2 separate regions of the Homo sapiens genome follow, and region 1 is linked to region 2. Evidence: promoter capture Hi-C in human tissues and cell types (Jung and others, 2019). All regions are on one chromosome and are shown on one strand. Each heading gives the region's core, a stretch centred on a gene start or on the middle of the fragment in contact. The rest is flanking DNA. Distances are from core to core; before and after follow the strand shown.

The links. Contacts are between HindIII fragments. The study calls those that stand out against the background at their distance.
Region 1: a fragment that was not itself captured here is called in contact with the fragment with the promoter of DEFB127 in region 2 in 3 of the 25 tissues and cell types used here (aorta, dorsolateral prefrontal cortex and lymphoblastoid cells).

What each region holds. Positions count from the first base shown.
Region 1 is chr20:239,046-242,564 of GRCh38, forward strand. No RefSeq gene overlaps it. Among named protein-coding and RNA genes, the nearest start is that of DEFB129, 14 kb to the left of the region's middle. The HindIII fragment of the contact is 4,422 bases long and covers 1-3,519 here.
Region 2 is chr20:155,492-159,083 of GRCh38, forward strand. It overlaps DEFB127 (defensin beta 127), which reads left to right and starts at 1,963. Exons shown (of 2, transcript NM_139074.4): 1 at 1,963-2,102; 2 at 3,283-3,592. The coding sequence starts at 2,054. The coding sequence ends at 3,533. The HindIII fragment of the contact is 9,888 bases long and covers 1-2,333 here.

The DNA.
Region 1 (3,519 bases), core at 145-2,644, 83 kb after region 2:
CCTTGTCTCTAGAGAGACCACGCATCCATAACGAAGAACCTCTTATAACCATGGGTTCCACATCTTTACGGCTTAATCACTGATGCTCTCAGTGAACCTGAAAATTGATCCTGCTGAACAAGATCAATAAACAGAGTTTTGATTCAAAGGCAGCCCAATGAGTTAATAAGTGCTCCATGACAATGCCAAAGAGGATTAAGGAAAGAATAGCAACCTGGAGGAAGATGTATAGAAAAGCAGACCAGGTGCGGTGGCATGCGCCTGTAGTCCCAGCTACCCAGGAGGCTGAGGCAGGTGAATCATTTGAACCTGGGAGGTGGAAGTTACAGTGAGCCGAGATCACGCCACTGCACTCCAGCCTGGGAGACAAAACGAGACTCTGTCAAAAACAACAACAAAAAAAAACCAATATTAATAATGCAAATATTTGAGTTACAGGGCATTTTTAAGAGCCAGATACAGTACTGGGAACCTTGAGTATATTATCTCATTTAGTCCTTAAAACAACCCCATAGACTTTATATAAATAATACAACTGAAAGTTTAACTTAAGTTGCTGAAGTTCACAGATAAGCAGTAGAATCAGGATTGGAACCCATGTCTCATCATATCAGAGACCCTACGCTTAAGTGCTATGCTTCCTTGACTCTCACTGGCAACAGCTTTGGTGCATGTACCTAATGCCAGTTATATCATAAAGGATCTACATGGATAAGCTTATTTCATACTCTTAGAAATGGTTTGGAAGAGGCCAGGCGTGGCGGCTCACACCTGTAATCCCAGCACTTTGGGAGGCCTAGGCAGGCAGATCACGAGGTCAGGAGATCGAGACCATCCTGGCTAACATGGTGAAACCCCATCTCTACTAAAAATACAAAAAATTAGCCAGGCATGGTGGCATGCACCTGTAATCCCAGCTACTCAGGAGGCTGAGGCAGGAGAATTGCTTGAACCTGAGAAGCAGAGGTTGCAGTGAGCCAAGATCACGCCACTGCACTCCAGCCTGGGTGACAGAGTGAGACTTCGTCTCAAAAAAAAAAAAAAAAGTTTGGAAGAAGCTATAGAAGTCTCGATATTACTGGTGACCCAGTATAAGGAGGAGTGGTGAATATCCCTATTCTAAAGGATTTCCTAATCCTGAAGGATTTGGACAGCTCCTGCAATTGCCAAATGTAAGCGGCCTGAAAAGTTCACACTTAGATTATTGCCTTTATTTTTGGCTCCCACACTGTAAAAGAAATTAGAATTAGAGCACAGATACAAAAGCTATGATAATGAAAGTCCTAAAAAAAATTCCATTAAGAAACACACACATATAAGTCAGAAATTCATTGGGAATACCTTTGCATTTTAAGAGATGAGAAGGAAAGAGTTAACAGTAGTCCTGAAATCAATTCTCTCCCTTTAACAGGAGATACTTCTGGCAGGAAAGAAAAAAAAAAAAAAAAAACTTGACTCTGACTCTGTCAGATCTCCTTATAACATGCTAATAAGAGACCTTCTGGTAAATATGCTAATGATATTCACTAGCAGAGGGGTCTTTATGTAGCAGAATGCATCTGCTCAGTCCTCAATTGCTTCTGGTAAACAAACTTAGAGTCTATGAATTTACAGGGCATGGCTCCTTGAAAAATGTCATGTGTTTGTAATGCTAAGTAATTGCCAGAGAATAAAATGGAGATGTTTCTAGCTAAAATAGCCCCTTTGGGTAGCTGATGGGCACCCATGCATCACAGACATCACTTAGAGATCTTTCATGTTAAACCTATCCCATGGCTTATTTTCATGAGGCAAGAAAGGACCTGGGAAGTGGTGTGGACATCCCAGACTTTTGCATTTTTACCTGCTTCGTAATTACCCGTATCCTTGAAATTATTACTAAAGCTTAATGCTGGGAAAGATCTCTGATTCCCCTGATTCTGATTTGGCAAGCCAATCAATCTTTTGTATTAATCAGGAAAGAAAGCCAATATTTCTATATGAATATACTCATCTCAAAACTTTTCAGAAAAGATATTTTCCATACATGGAAATAGCTTAATTAACTTTTTCTGATTATGAGGTTACTTATAGTCATTTTGAACACTCAGACAAAACAGAAAACTTTATGGAAGATAAAATAAGAATAACAAAATCTTTCCCAAAGAGAAAGACCATTAAATTTTTGTATATATCCTTCCAGAGAATACACAAATTATATGTATATATATTTTACATGTATACATATATAACAAAGACTAGCTTATACTACCCACGCTTTCCTGTCATTTTTCTTTTCTACCTAAGATATCACTGACAGTCTTTTATATAATAAGGATAGTCCTCAATTATCATCATTGTTTAAATGGAATTCTAATGTGTTAAGTGCCATAAATTAGCAGATTCTCTATTGATAGACATTTAGCTTACTTTTCACATTCTCACTATGAGTAATGCTAAGAAGGCAATATAGTTCTTGCACCTTCATGAACATATTCTTTTATGCTATGTGCATTATTTTGGGTCAAAGGGCAAGCAGAGTTTCATTTAATTTTGTTTTAGACATGGGCTATATATTGACAAATTGCCCTCCCAGGAACAGTACACAGTTTTTCTTATGTTGCCTCACCCATGCCAGCAGTAGCTAGAAAATGCATTTCCAAAGACTGGTGCTAATTTTCTGTGCATTCTGTGAGTGCTCAGTCAATTTAAGCAATAACCACTTAGAGTAACAAAATCTATTCACCCTAATAGCAGAGATTTCTACTTCATCCCTGGCTCACTGCCCAACTTTTGATCTCATCTAAGGCCAATAAATGTAGCTCCAGACAAGTGACACAGGTAGCTCTGTCCCCATCCAATCTACCCAGCTACTTCTCTTAAGGCACGTTCTGATCCTTCAAGCATGAAGTTCTTGCCTCTGGCTTTTGTTTCTCTCTTGTTTCTGGCTTCAGTGACCTTGAGTACCCTGGAATCTTCCATATTGAGAAAGAAATGATAGAGGGGAGGGGACATGGAAAAAAGAATTAAATATATCTATTTTTAAAAAGAAAGAAAATTTTAGAATGGACATGTCTAGAAGGAGGAGGAAACAGAGGAGGGGGACAGGTATAAAAACTGGACTTCTCTGAATATACTCTGCTTTGAAGGTTTGACTTTGGAATCATCTACATATTTTATCTAATACAAGAATATCGAAACTTAAATGGCAATCCCAAAAATCTAAAAGGAATAGAAATCAAATTAGCCTCTGTAATAAATGGGTTGTATAACCACACAAAGGACTATTTGAAATGACTTTCAAAGAGTAATTTGAGAATACTTCCTTATTGGAATATAACCTAAAAACAGAAGAATTGCAAACTGTTTTCAATGTTTTCAGTAATCATATTGAGACTTTAATACATATATTGTGGGATAAAGGAAATGAATGTTGGTGTCACTGATAGAGATAAGAAATAAAAGTTCAGGTAAAAATTCTGTAAATCCTAAATTTGAATTGGAATTTTATATTTTATTTTTAAAATACCTTTTTCTACC
Region 2 (3,592 bases), core at 713-3,212:
GTGTCTTATTGTCTAATATTGCTGAAATCTTTTTTTAATCCAATAATGAATCTCTGTCATCTAATCAGTGAGTTTAAGCCATGTGAATGTATTATAACTACTGATCTATTAGGACTTTTTTCTGCCCTCCAGTTGTGACTTATCTATTCCTCATTTTTTTTAGTTTCTGTTGGATGGATCATATGTTCTTCTGCTAATATGAATATTATAATTTTATTTTTATTTGTTTTATTAAAAATTTGTCCTTGCTCTTAGGACCCATTCCTATCCTTATATTTATTATTACTAATTTAACATCCAGCTTCAGAAATACAACTTTAATAGGAAGGCTTTTTGTATTTCTCCTGACTGCTCAGACTTAGGGTCTTTATTTGATGCTCCACCACCAAGTCACCTATAAGGAAAGTTTGCATTCACAGGAAGACTATAAATAATAAAACCAATCCCTTGACTAGGACTTAAACCATGTAAAAGCTGGTGGCAAAAGTAAAGGGAGGTGACCCTTGAGACCTCTGAGGTAACTGCTCTTAAATTTACATTTGCCTCTAAAAAGGATTTCTTATATGTCAACATCTCTCTGTTTAAACATATTCTTGTGTAAAACCACTACGTGACCTGAATAATGGCCATAGGGCTCATCTCTAAGCCAACTGGCTTATTTATTTAATGCATCTCAGTGGTTAACAGGGTTGAAATTTTTTGAAAACTGCAATCAATGATCAAAGAATGATCTAGGTAAACATCGATTCCTTGTGGCAACATTTTAATATTTTCAAAGACAAGGTACAACTGGTAGAAAAAAAATACCCTCATGCATCTTTTTCTTCTAATTGTGGTAAAATATATGACATAACATTGGCCATTTTAGCCATTTTTCCTTTTATTTTTAGTTGACACATAATTGTACTTATTTATAGGATACAAAGTGATATTTCAATACATGCATATAATGTGTAATGATCAAACCAGGGTAATTAGCATATCCGTCACCTCAAACATTTATCATTTGTATTGGGAACATTCAAAATCCTCTCTTCTAGCCTTTTAAAAGTATACAATAAATTGTAGTTAACCATATTCACCTTACAGTGCTACAACACCAGAAGTCATTCCTCCTATCTATAATTTTGCATCCATTAGCCAATCTCTCTCCATCCTCCCCTCTCCCTAATCATTACCAGCCTCTAATATTAATATCTGCAACACTACTCTCTACTTCCATGTGCTCAACTTTTTTAGCTCCCATATATAAATAGGAACATGTGGTAATCTTTCTGTGCCTGACATTTCACATAACATAATGTCCTCCAGGCTATCCATGTTGTTGCAAAGGACAGAATTTCATTATTTTTATGGGTGAATAGTATTCCATTGTGTGTGTGTGTGTATATATATATATATATATTCCATTGTGTGTTATGTATGTATAGTATTCCATTGTGTGCATATATATGTATATATGTGTGTACATATATATATACATAATATATATTCTTCTGCACATGGAAATCCAGTTTCTCCAGCATGATTTATTGAAGAGGGTATCCTTTCCCCAGTGTATGTTCTTGGTGCTTTTATAAAAAATCAGGTGACCTCAGATCAGACCCAACTACATCATACCTTCTTTCGAAATGTGCAAGAAACCTACTAGAAATTCTTATTGTTAGAGTTTCAGATTTATGTCCTGGTTTATACTGCCACATTCATTCTTGGAGGTGAGTACATTTCGATCTTGGTCCGGCTGCGCAGAGAGTCAAAGCAGGAAAATCACAGATTCTTCCCAGCAGTCTACAGCCTACACAGCGGCATTTGGTGCGATGGGATGGAACATGCTGTATCTCTATTCCATGTGGGGGTAAAGTGGGTGGCCTGAAATTTCCTGTGTCTGCCTGCATGATGCAAAGCTCACAGTTCAGAAGCTTAAGGACACACTTCATATCATCCCATCTGTTCTGGTTCAGTGCATAAGAATCTAAGTCTCTGAGGAAGGTAGCATAGTGTGCAGTTCACTGGACCAAAAGCTTTGGCTGCACCTCTTCTGGAAAGCCTGGCCATGGGGCTCTTCATGATCATTGCAATTCTGCTGTTCCAGAAACCCACAGGTAAACCAAACCAGAAGCTCACTCAAATCAACAGTGGGATGGAGCATTTTCAGGAGCCAAAGGGAACTTCATAATCCACACTAAAGGGAAATAGAGCCCCCAAAGATGGCTAAAGTTTATCCAACATCATCAGAAATTTCCTCTTTCTGGAGCCTTATTCCATGTTACTATCCTTAAAGAGGAGTACTCACTGAGCTAAAAAGAGGTCATAATTTCTTCTGGGAAAGATGTGTTGTTATAGAAAGGAATGATGCCAATATCTAGGGATACCTTTATGTCTTTGGATATGGTTTTTACTCTGATGCTCAGCTATATTTCCTTTTACTCAAATATATATATGTGTGTGTGTGTGTGTGTGTGTGTGTGTGTGCATGAATAGAGGAAGAAGCAAATTTTGGAGTTAGGTTTAAGAAACATGCCTTCAATATCTACTAGTTTGTCAACTTTAAGTAGTGAAGACTCTAGGAGCCTCAGTTTCCTCATCTATGGAGATAATGACACCTGGTTAACAGGGGTTTTATTAAATGATATAACCTATGTGAAGCTTGGCACATACTGAGAACTCAAAAATTAGAGTTTCCTTTCCTCTTTCAAAACCAGATTTCTTACATGTGTCCCTTATTATAAGAATAGTAATGGCCTATTCCTGACCCTCTACATTCCTAAGACCCAATAGACTACTACCTTACTGGATAACATGAAAGTCATTCTTGACCCTGATAGTGGGTTTGAACTCAGGAGAACAGTTTGATTCAGACATAAACACATAGTAACAATACATTGTTCTCTGGGCATCAGAGGAGGTGCAGTAGAAGGTAGTGCTCTGGGAGCATTCAGGATGCAGGCAGATTTGCTGAGGTTCCTATGTAGAGCATAGTTCCATAGCCTAGAATCAAGGGTTCAGCTCCTTTATTTTCTCAGATAAGATCTTATGTTCTTGGCAGAGTCTATCAGATGTTAAGGGAGGCCTAAAACCTCACAGGACCTAAATATAAGTGATCCAGTTAAATACAAACACTGAGGTTGACCTTGTCGGAAAATCCTCTTCAGAATATATGAGGGTCTGCCTTGTGGATACCCCATACCCCTAATTCCTACAAGCCTCCTCTGTCTTCCCCAAAACCAACGTGCCTTCAGTCTCAAACACTGATATTGTTCTATTGCTCCTTTCTGTGTATAGTAACCGAACAACTTAAGAAGTGCTGGAATAACTATGTACAAGGACATTGCAGGAAAATCTGCAGAGTAAATGAAGTGCCTGAGGCACTATGTGAAAATGGGAGATACTGTTGCCTCAATATCAAGGAACTGGAAGCATGTAAAAAAATTACAAAGCCACCTCGTCCAAAGCCAGCAACACTTGCACTGACTCTTCAAGACTATGTTACAATAATAGAAAATTTCCCAAGCCTGAAGACACAGTCTACATAAATCAAATACAATTTCGTTTTCACTTGCTTCTCAACCTAGTCTAATAAACTAAGGTGATG